Regions from separate parts of the Homo sapiens genome. Here all the other regions are linked to region 2. The links are contacts of gene promoters, found by promoter capture Hi-C in blood cells and fetal thymus (Javierre and others, 2016). All regions are on one chromosome and are shown on one strand. Each heading gives the region's core, a stretch centred on a gene start or on the middle of the fragment in contact. The rest is flanking DNA. Distances are from core to core; before and after follow the strand shown. Region 1 overlaps URI1 (URI1 prefoldin like chaperone). Region 2 holds the start of UQCRFS1 (ubiquinol-cytochrome c reductase, Rieske iron-sulfur polypeptide 1). Region 3 has its middle 5.4 kb from the start of URI1.

The links. Contacts are between HindIII fragments. The CHiCAGO score rates a contact against its expected background, and 5 or more counts as called.
Region 1: a fragment that was not itself captured here is called in contact with the fragment with the promoter of UQCRFS1 in region 2 in 3 of 17 cell types (naive CD8 T cells, total CD8 T cells and monocytes); the score reaches 5.3 in naive CD8 T cells.
Region 3: a fragment that was not itself captured here is called in contact with the fragment with the promoter of UQCRFS1 in region 2 in 7 of 17 cell types (naive CD8 T cells, activated CD4 T cells, total CD8 T cells and 4 more); the score reaches 11.1 in naive CD8 T cells.

Annotation. Positions count from the first base shown.
Region 1 is chr19:29,957,163-29,960,712 of GRCh38, reverse strand. The region is part of intron 1 of URI1 (URI1 prefoldin like chaperone); the gene reads right to left. Among named protein-coding and RNA genes, the nearest start is that of URI1, 17 kb to the right of the region's middle. The HindIII fragment of the contact is 2,245 bases long and covers 1,082-3,326 here.
Region 2 is chr19:29,211,260-29,215,061 of GRCh38, reverse strand. It overlaps UQCRFS1 (ubiquinol-cytochrome c reductase, Rieske iron-sulfur polypeptide 1), which reads left to right and starts at 1,911. Exons shown (of 2, transcript NM_006003.3): 1 at 1,911-2,157. The coding sequence starts at 1,944. It overlaps UQCRFS1-DT (UQCRFS1 divergent transcript), which reads right to left and starts at 1,809. Exons shown (of 2, transcript NR_184022.1): 1 at 1,654-1,809. RefSeq lists an enhancer at 1,728-1,967 and a silencer at 2,008-2,317. The HindIII fragment of the contact is 13,970 bases long and covers 1-3,802 here.
Region 3 is chr19:29,935,024-29,938,617 of GRCh38, reverse strand. It overlaps a transcript of URI1 not described here. Among named protein-coding and RNA genes, the nearest start is that of URI1, 5.4 kb to the left of the region's middle. The HindIII fragment of the contact is 153 bases long and covers 2,043-2,195 here.

The DNA.
Region 1 (3,550 bases), core at 955-3,454, 750 kb before region 2:
AGATATCTAGACTGAATATTAAAACCACAACAATATGCTGTTTATAAGACACACTTCGAACCCAAAAGACTGAAGTTAAGAAGATTTTTTTTAAAGATAGACAAAACAAACAAATTTAGCTGGTGTGACCATACTAATACTAATATCCAACAAAGGAGACTTGAAGGCAAGTAGCATTACTAGAGATAAAAATATCTCAGAATGGTGAAAAGGTCAACTGACCAGGAAGTTTTTACAATTTTAAATTTGTATACAATGAATAACATAGCTGTAAAATATATAAAGCAAAGGTTAAAAAAAGAGAGAAAAATAAATCTATAATCCTAGTGACTATTTTAATACATATCTCAATAAATGATAGAATTAGCAGACAAAAAAATTAACAAGGACATAAAATACTGGAACAACATATTCAAGCAGCCTGAACTAACAGACACATACTGAACCCAAAAACTGCAGGATTAACATTTTTTTCCAAGTAAATTATGAAAAATTTACCAAGAAAAAGAAAACATTAGGTCAAAAGGCAAGACTTAAATTTCAATTATGCAGAATGTGTACTCTGACCACACTAGAGAAACAGAAAAATAAGTAGAAAATAATGTTTGAAAAGGAATGTATTTCCAATTTATGGGTCAATGAGCAAATCACAATAGAAATTAGAAACTATTTTTAAATGACTGATAAGGAAAATGACATACAAAATGTGTGCAGTACCTAAGGCAATGATTAAGAGAAAAATTTAAAGCTCAAAATGCATATCTTATAATAAGGAAAGGTTAATATTAGTAACCTCAACCATCATCTCTAAGGGCTAGAAAAATTACAGGCAAAGGAAAATCTTAAACAGGAAAAAAGAGAGAAGAAATCAGTAAAGTAGAAAGCAGACTTAGAAAAGAGGAAAAAAATCAAAGGCAAAAATATAAAATATAAAATTGATAAACCCTTAAGAAGAGAAATCAAGGGAGGAAAAAACCCACAAATTAAAAATTACAGTAATTAAAAAGAGGACATCACCACCAAATCTACTGATAATAAAAAGATAACAGGATATTATGATAACTCGGAGGGACAACAAGCTTGAAAACTTAGAAAGGACAATTCCTTGAAAATCACATTTTCTAAAATGATATAACTAGAAACAGAAAATCTGGATAGTCTTTGAACTTTCAAAGAAATTGAGGTCGTATCTTAAAATCTCCATACAAAATGTCCAAGAAAAATATTGGGCCCAGACGGCTTTGTTGATGAACTCTTCCAAACATTTAAGTTAGAAACAGTACGAGCCAGGCACAGTGGCTGACTAGCCTGTAGTCCATCATTTTGGGAAGCCAAGGCAGATGGATAGCTTGATCCCAGAAGTTCAAGACCAGCCTGGGCAACATAGTGAGACTCTGTCTCTACAAAAAATACAGAAAAATTAGCCAGGCATGGTGGCGCATTCCTATAGCCCCAGCTACTCGGGGAGACTGAGGCGAGAGGATCACCTGAGCCTGGGAGTTCCAGGATGCAATGAGCCAGGATTGGCCACTGCACTCCAGCCTGGATGAGAGCGAGATTCTGTTTCAAAAAAACAAAAACAAAACACACACACAAAAACCAATAACAACAGTGTATAAACTTTTATAGGATATACAAAAATGGGAGTTGTTTCATGAGACCAGCCTAATTCTGAAGCCAAATCCTTACGTCGACATTACAAGAAAAGAAAATCATAGGTTTAAGGTAGTGTTAATGTTTTTTGTTGTTTTTTTTTTGAGACGGAGTCTCACTTGCCCAGGCTGGAGTGCAGTGGCGTGATCTCAACTCACTGCAACCTCCACCTCCCGGGTTCAAGCAATTCTCATGCCTCAACCTTCCGAGTAGCTGGGATTACAGGCCCCCGCCACCACACCCAGCTTATTTTTGTATTTTTTGTAGAGATGGGGTTTCACCATGTTGGCCAGGCTGATCTCAAACCCCTGACCTCACGTGATCCGCCCACCTCAGCTTCCCAAAGTGCTGGGATTACAGGTGTGAGCCGCAGCACCCTGGTAGAGTTAATCAAAAAAAAAGAAAAAAGAAAAGAAAAGAAAGAATTACAGAATTTTGCCTCATGTAACAGAACAAAATACCTTAATAAAATATTATCAAATTTAATCTAGCAATATACAACAAGGTAAACACATCCTCTACAAATGGGTTTGCTGCAGGAATGCAATGGCATTTGAATATTTTTAAAGAATCAAAGTAATTTACCATATTGTTATCTCAAGAAACATAGAAAATACATTTGATAAAATTCAGCATCCATTAATGATAAAATTAGCAACAGGAGAAAATGTCCTTATTTTCATAACGAGTAGCTACAAAAAGCCAACTACGAACATCTGTATGGTGAAATACTTAAAACTGCCCTCCTGGTATGTAAAGCCCAATGTCCTAACTTTTATTTTACATTATATTAAAGGTTCTAGCCCATACAATAGGGCAAAAAACAAAACAAAACAAACAACCATAAAAAAAAACTTAAGAACTGGAATGAATAAAACTGTCAGTATTTACAAACAACATGCCTGTATGTAACTACACAGATACTATCAGAATGTACAGGCAAGTAATTAGAATTCAAATAAATTTAGGCCAGGCATGGTGGCTCACACTTGTTGTGGTCCCAGCACTTTGGGAAGCAGAGGCGGGTGGATCACTTGAGGCCTGGAGTTGGAGACTAGTCTGGCCAACACAGCAAACTCATCTCTATTTTTTAACAACAACAAAAAATTTTAGAACAAAGTCAATATGTAAAAATCAAGTATGTTACCAGCAAAAAAAAAAAAAAAAATGAATAGCAAGTAAATTACAAAAGGCAACAAAAAATAGTATCTAGAAATAAATCTAACACATGAAGATTTATATACTTTTAAAAGCTAATACTAAAAAGTTATAGAAGTAAATAAATTGATATACCATGTTCATAGATTTTAAAACTTAATATTGTAAACATCTTAATTCTCCTCAAACCGATCTTTAGATCCAGTGCACTCCAAGCAAAACCCCAGTAATGTTATTTTTTGAGTATTGGAAAGGTGATCCTAAAATATATACAAAAAAGCAAAGGGTCAGAATAGTAAAGACAATCTTGAAGAACAAAGTGCTAGAGGAATTTTACTACTAGATATCAAGACCTATTATAAAGCTAAAATAGTAAGAGTGTGATACTGGTGCAATTACAGGCAAATAATCCAATGGAACAGAATAGAGAAACAGAGCTACACACAAATAATCACATAATTTATGAAACAGACAACATACTCCATAAGGATTACTCTGGCTGCTAAAAGAAAGCTTAACCCCCTCCAGAATCCCTAGAATTTTTTGTTACAATATCTGGCATCCAGTTCAAAATTACAAGGTACAAGGCAATCTATAAAAACAAAAGCGGCTATAAAGAAACCAAGGGGAAGGAATAAAAGCAGACCTTCATTTGATTGACATATTGCATTTATAAAATATAATAGACTTTATGATTAATACATTCATGAAAACAGAAGAAAAGTTGCAGATGTCAACA
Region 2 (3,802 bases), core at 662-3,161:
ACCCAGGAGGTCTGGAGATAATTCCTATTCTGTTCACCCAACTGGGACATTGTGAAGGTTTTGTGAAGGATCATTCATTCATTCATTCATTTTTCATTTCCTTACCAACTCAGAGGGAATTGTGATATTATTTCTTGTGAAGCACTCAAACCATGCATGCTGTGTGACAACTTCTCTGGAAATGTCTTTTATCCTAAGGTTGTTGCCAAGGGAGAGCACTGAGCCAGCTGTGTGATGAGCCTGGCTAGGGTGGCCCCTGAGGAGGCAGCCTCCAATCTTGAGAGTACAATATAGTCCCTTGGGCTATAAGGCTGGTCAAAGCCTAGGCCCTAAGGGGAGTCATAGGAAGGTCAAAGGGGAAACCTGTCAGTACACTTTGGACCTGGCATGAGGAATAACAACGAGTCAGCAAGGATCAAGGGAAGGCTTCTTAGAGGAGGTGGCATCTCAGATAAAAACACCACTAGCAAATCCTCACTTGGTGCTGCCTGTGTGCTGGGCCTGCTTGTAGATGCTTTACACGTTTTAGTTCATTTACTCCTCCCAGTAACTTTACAACACACATGGCATCATTACTGCCCCCATTTGGCAGGTGAGGAAACTGAGGCACAGAGAGGTGAGGGAACTTGCCCAGATCACAGAGCCCATGCACAGCACAGAGCCAATTCTGTGCACTGCTTATATTAACATTTACTTAATATTTAAATTATTTTTGACCTAAATGAAAAACTTTATCTCAGTATAGTACAGAATAGAAAACCAGTATGGATAGAAAATCAATACTATGAACCATATAATGAAATCACTCTAGACTCAGTTCTCTGCTAAGAGCTTCTAACTCAAGATCTTTTCTGTTAAAAGTGGGAGATAAGTGTAGAGAGGAATTAAAGATATATTAGGATCAAACTGAGGCCAAGTGAATTTGCTCATGCCTATAATCCCAGTACTTTGGGAGGGGGAGACAGGACTCCTTGAGGCCAGAAGTTCGAGACTGGAGTGGGCAATATAGTGAGACCTCATCTCTACTTTTTTTTTTTTTTAATTAAAGATGTATTAGCACCAAACTGAGACTTTCTCATTGGTGCAATCAGGATTGAAAAACAAAACAAAAGAAAACAAAACTTTCTCACTATGTGATGGAACATGAATGAGCGAGCTCTGTGCATCCTCTAAAATTCTAAAATCCTACTTTGGGAAACAGTGGTGGCACTGAAGAGCATAGACTCAGGAGACAGATTACCCTGCTTCACATCTTGCTGGCTATCCAGTTCCTGGAAAAGAATCTCTCTAAACCTCGGTTTCTTCATGGGTAAAATGCTGATAGTAATAGCTCTGACTTCATAGAGACCTTGATAACAAATGAAAGAACGTAGGTATAATAAAACGCAAAACCAAATACACAGTGAATACTTAATAAACATAATCCATTAGCATTATCGAGCTTTGCACAGATGCCTCTGGCCTTTTTGTTGTTGTTGTTGTTAGATGAAGATAATAAAAATCATCATAGTAAACACATAGCGATTACTATGTGCTGGACTTCGTCGTAGTTGAGATATATTACCATCCTAAGTTAAACTATAATCGTTTATTGTTATCTCTAGGTCTTCCTAGATGAAATTTTTACCCTAAAGGATCGTAAAGTCGGCCCACCGGACGTCAGTGGGGTCCCCTGTTCAGCCCTCTCGTTCTTCTGGGGATCTCTCGGGACACTGACGAGGTGGCACCGGGACCTACAGGTGGGCCGCAAGCCCCGCCCCCAGCGACGGCTTGTAGCCCCGTCCCCCGACGCAGCGCCTCTCCAAGTTTGCCCCGCCCTGCAGGACTGCAGAATTTCCTTTCCGGCGGCGCGCTGTCGTCACGCGTCCCGCGCCTCCTCGCGCCTGCGCCGTGGTTGGAAGGTCGTCCCTGTGACCGGCTTGGCGGTTGGAGCGGCTGTCGCCATGTTGTCGGTAGCATCCCGCTCAGGCCCGTTCGCGCCCGTCCTGTCGGCCACGTCCCGCGGGGTGGCGGGCGCGCTGCGGCCCTTGGTGCAGGCCACGGTGCCCGCCACCCCGGAGCAGCCTGTGTTGGACCTGAAGCGGCCCTTCCTCAGCCGGGAGTCGCTGAGCGGCCAGGCCGTGCGCCGGCCTTTGGTCGCCTCCGTGGGCCTCAATGGTGAGCCGGGGCGAGGGCCGCGAGCAGGGCTGGGGGTCTCTCGGTGCCCGCTCCTCCGGCCCCCAGCAGGGAGCGGCCGCGGGCGCGCGAGCGGAGCCTGAATCAGGTCGGGCTGGGCGGCCTCCGCAACTCTGGGCCTGGCCCCCGGGCTCGGGGCGTCTTTCTGGTGGCCGGCCTGGACTCGCGTCCGCCGGCTTCGCCTGGTTCCTCCTCGGCCGAGTTCACGAGCTCTGTAGTCCCGCTGTTCCAGCCACCTCTGAGGGGTTTTGTTGCTTGCAGGTCGTTTGACCTTGGGCGAGTTTCTAAACGTACTTCCTGTGAAATGGATTCATATCTTTATCAATTTTGTAGGGGTGTCGTGAGGCTTAGGTGGAGGAATTCTACGTAAAGCCGTTAGCACAGTTTGGGCACTTACATGCTTAAGAAATGGAAACTTACTAATATTTGGGAAGTTGGTCTTCTCACCACTACCGATCCCTTCATGTCCTTCCCCTTCATCACCCCCCCACCAAAAAAAAAACAAAAAAAACATACACAAGGTCAGTTACAGTGTAGTGTCACAACATAATCAGTCGTCAAGGACGGGCAGAGATTGACGACATTTACATTTTACAGATGAGAAAACAGACGAGGTAGAATGACTCGCACCAGGATCCGTGGTGTGGACATGTGGTAGCAGGGATTTGACAAGACGAATTGTCGTAGCCACTGAGCTCTTCGCAGGGGCTATTCCACACCCTCTGTCCTTAGATCCCCGTTTATCTTCTTTGCCTCGCCTTCCATCTTTACTTGGCCCTGTATCGGAGATAGAGAAATGGCAGCCTGTGGGCAGTGTGTCTGCAGGCTGTGTAGTTTTCAAAAAAACTGGGAAGACTAATGGCATCTCTTAAAATGCTGGAAGCCGGTAATACTGGGATCTAGTTTCTACTTGGGAAAATTCCATAGTGTGCTGTGTAGTGGCCGCCCCCGCAGTTGGAGCAAGTGGTCTTCTCCAGTTTGTCACAGTCTTTACCAGGTCTGCGTGTTTCATTCTGTTACCAGCCTGGCTCCACTGATAGCTGTTTGTGACTCTTCCCCTACACGCTAACCAAATTGCCCGCCACTTTTCTTTTTACTCTGTCTTCATTCACCCTGGGCTCTGCACTTTCTTCATGGTCCTTCCACTAAGTTGCTACATGTCCATATGTTTTCCTTACCCATCTTTTCAATCTCAGTTAAGGATCAGGTGAATAAAGTTTTTATTTGCTGATTTGTCTGTCTCTGTAGCACATACACTTTACACTCTGTATTGTGTTTATTGGTAACTCCTCCACCCTTGGGCTTAAGGGCATAGAGAAGGTAATATCTTCTTTATTTTTCTATCTTTCACAACGTCGGATTTTGTATACAGTTAGTGCAAAGTATTTGTGAATGAATATTTGTTAAGGAGCATCAGTGGGTTTTGAAGAAACTGTCCATGGCAGGTGTAGAGTACCCTAGCCCATCCTTGGGACCTGGAGGTGAGAAGGAAGGAAGGAGAACATTTCAATAGCAAAAGAAAAGCATCTTTGGAATTCGTCGTGTTGCTAAAGTTTCTTCAAAAAATTGGAGGCTTACATTTCTCTGATGGCCAGTGATGCTGAGCATTTTTTCATGTGTTTTTTGG
Region 3 (3,594 bases), core at 870-3,369, 720 kb before region 2:
AGGCCCCCCACTGGGAATGGGAGACAAGAGTTGACCAAGGCAAGCACCAGCCCTGTTCATAGATGTTGGAGTCAATAGAGGGCCACTAACATGGTTTGGATATTGTTCCCTCAAAATCTCATGTTGAAACGTGATCCCTAATGTTGGAAGTGGGGCCTAGTGGGAGGTGTTTGGGTCTTGGGGGCGGATCCCTCATGAATGGTTTGCTGCTCTTCTGCAGTAATGAGTTCACATGAAAGCTGGTTGTTTAAAAGAGCCTGGCACCTCCTCCTTCCTCTCTTGCTCCCTAGCTCTTACTTCCACTTGCCATGTGACGTGCAGCTCCCCATTTGCCTTCCACCATGATTGGAAGCTTCCTGAGGCCTCACCAGAAACCGAGCAGGTGTTGGTGCCACATGCTTGTATGGCCCACAGAACTGCGAGCCAAATAAACCTCCTTTCTTTACAAATTACCCAGCCTTGGCTGGGCACAATAATTCACATCTGTAATCCCAAAACTTTGGGAGCCCAAAGCAGATGGATCTCCTGAGGTCAGGATTTCGAGACCAGCCTGGCCAATATGGTGAAACCCCATCTCTACTAAAGATACAAAAAATTAGACAGGCAAACCTCATGAGACATGAATAAACAGCCAGGGGAGTTCTTGATGAAAAAAGAGGCTGCTGGTTGTTGGTAAGAGAACAGCAACAGGGTGGATGCAAAACAGCTGCCATGCCCCATTTCTCAGCCCTCACCCTACCATGAGGCTGCAGGAATAGCTTTCCTGGAATGGCTGGCTGGTTGCAAGGTGGGCAAGATGACCCTTGTCCTCCAAAAATTGGGGCATTTTTGAGTCCTGAGGGATTAGCACAGACTCCTGTATTGGTTTCAGCCCTCTTGTGCTTCCTATGGCAGCATCCATCAGGAGATTTGAAAGTAAAGAACACCTTTTTGTAGCCAGAAATTTACAGATATCATTTCCAGGTCACTGGTTGCCTGTAAAGATTATGAAACAAAAACATCAGTAACCACATGCAATAAGGACTACACACTTTGCAAACATAGTTTGGAAAAGTCTCTAAACAAACAGATGGCTGCAACCCTCAACAAGCAAAAATCAGCAATCCCTGAAGAGGAGGAGAATCTGATTTTCAGAGTTACTACAATAATACCCAAAATGCCAAGTGCTCAACAAAATATTACAAAGCATACAAAGAAAAAGGAAAGTATAGCCTATTCACAGGGGGAAAAAAAGAATTCAATAGAAGCCATCCCCAAGGAAGCCTTTACATTGGAAACATTAGTCAAAGACATTAAATCAACTGTCTTACACCCAATGAGCTAAAGGAAACCAAAATAATATATGAACAAATAGGGAAGGCCAATGAAGAGATAGTTTAATCTTATAAAAAGGAACAAAATAGAAATCCTGGAGCCGAAAAGTACAATAGCTTGAACTTAGAAATTCACTAGAGAGATCAAAAAGCTGATCTGAAGAATCAGGAAGAAGAAAGAACCAGTGAACTTGAAGATAAGGCAATTGAAATTGTCCAGTTGTAAAGAGAGAAAAATAAATAACGAAAAATAGGCTGGCCATGGTGGCTCATGCCTGTAATCCCAGCACTTTGGGAGGCCGAGGAGGGTGGATCACTTGAATTCAGGAGTTTGAGATCAGCCTGGCCAACATGGTGAAACCCCATCTCTACTAAAATACAAAAATTAGCCAGGCATTGTGACGCGCACCTGTAACCCTAGCTGCTGGGGAGGCTGAGGCCAGAGAATCACTTGAATCAAGAAGGAGGAGGTTGCAGTGAGCCAAGATCATGCCACTGCACTCCAGCCTGGGCAATAGAGTGAGACTCTATCTCAAAAAAAAGAAAAGGAAAAATGAACAGAGCCTGATAGATCCATGTGATGCCATCAAGCATATATCAACATATGCATAGTAGAAGTTCCTGAAGGAGAAGAGGAACAGGAAGGGACAGAAAAAGAAATTTGAAGAAATAATGGCTGAAAACTTCCCAAATTTGATGAAGGATATGAACATACACGTCCAAGAAGCTTAACAAATTACAAGCGCGAGAAACTCAGAGATTCATACTGAAACTCACAGCCAGATTGTCAAAAATCAGAAACAAAAAGAGAATCTTGAAAGCAGCAAGAGAGGAACAACTTGTAAGGTACAAGGAGTCCTCAGTAACATTAATAGCTAAGCTTTCATCAGAAACCATAGAGGGGCTGGGTGCAGTGGCTCAGGCCTGTAATTCCAGCACTTTGGGAGGCCGAGGTGGGCAGATCGCCTGAGGTCAGGAGTTCGAGACCAGCCTGACCAATATGGCGAAACCCCATTCTACTAAAAATACAAAAATTAGCCAGATGCGGTGGTGGGCACCTGTAATCCTATCTACTTGGGAGGCTGAGGCTGGAGAATTGCTTGAACCTGGGAAGTGGAGGTTTCAGTGAGCCAAGATTGCACCACTGCACTCCAGCCTGGGCACAAGAGCAAAACTCTAAAAAAGCAAAACTCCATCTCAAAAAAAAATTTTTTTTAAGTGCCGGGCACAGTGGCTCACGCCTATAATCCCAGCACTTTGGGAGGCCAAGGCAGGTGGATCATGAGGTCAGGCATTCTAGACCAGCCTGGTCAACATAGTGAAACCCTGTCTCTACTAAAAATACAAAAAACTAGCCAGGCGTGGTGGCGGGTGCCTGTAGTCCCAGCTACTTGGGAGACTGAGGCAGGAGAATTGCTTGAACCTGGAAGGCAGAGGTTGCAGTGAGCCAAGACGGCACCATTTCACTCCAGCCTGGATGACAGTGTGAGACTCCATCTCAAAAAAAAAGAAAAGAGAAAAGAAAAGAAAAGAAAAGAAAAGGAACCAGAGGCCCAGAGGCAGTGGAATAACACAGTTAAAGTCCTGGGGAAAAAAAAAAAAAAGACTGTCAACCAAGAATTTCCTACCAGACAAACTATCCTTCAGGAATAAAGGAGAAATTAAGACATTTTCAGATAAATAAACGCAGAGAAAGCTCATTGCTAGTAGCCCTGCTCTACAAGAGCTGCTAAAATGAATCCATCAGGCTGAAATGAAAGGAAACTTGATAGTAATTCAAAGCCATGATGAGAAAAAAAAAGAACACTGATAAAAATAGTAACTACATACATCAGTAAATATAAAAGCCAGTATTATTGTAGGTTTTGTTCATAATACTTTGTTTTTCACCTATCATTTAAAGGGCAAATGCATGAAACAATAATTATAAATCTATGTTAATGGGCACAGAATGTATAAAGATATGATCTGGGACAATAATAATATAAAGAGGGAGGGAAAGAGATGTATAGGAGCAAAGTATTTGTATACTCTTAAAACTAAGTTAGTATTATTCAAATTAGGGTGTTATAAATTTAAGATGCTAATTGTGATCCCCAAGGCAACCGCTAAGAAAATAACTAAAAAATATACAGACAGGGAAAGAAAAAAGGAATCAAAATGATACACTAAAATCTATTAAATACCAAAAAAATGTAGTAGTGGAGGAATTGAGGAACAAAATTTAAAAAATGTACAGAAAAGCAAATAGCTATTAAATAAATGGCAGAATTAAATCCTT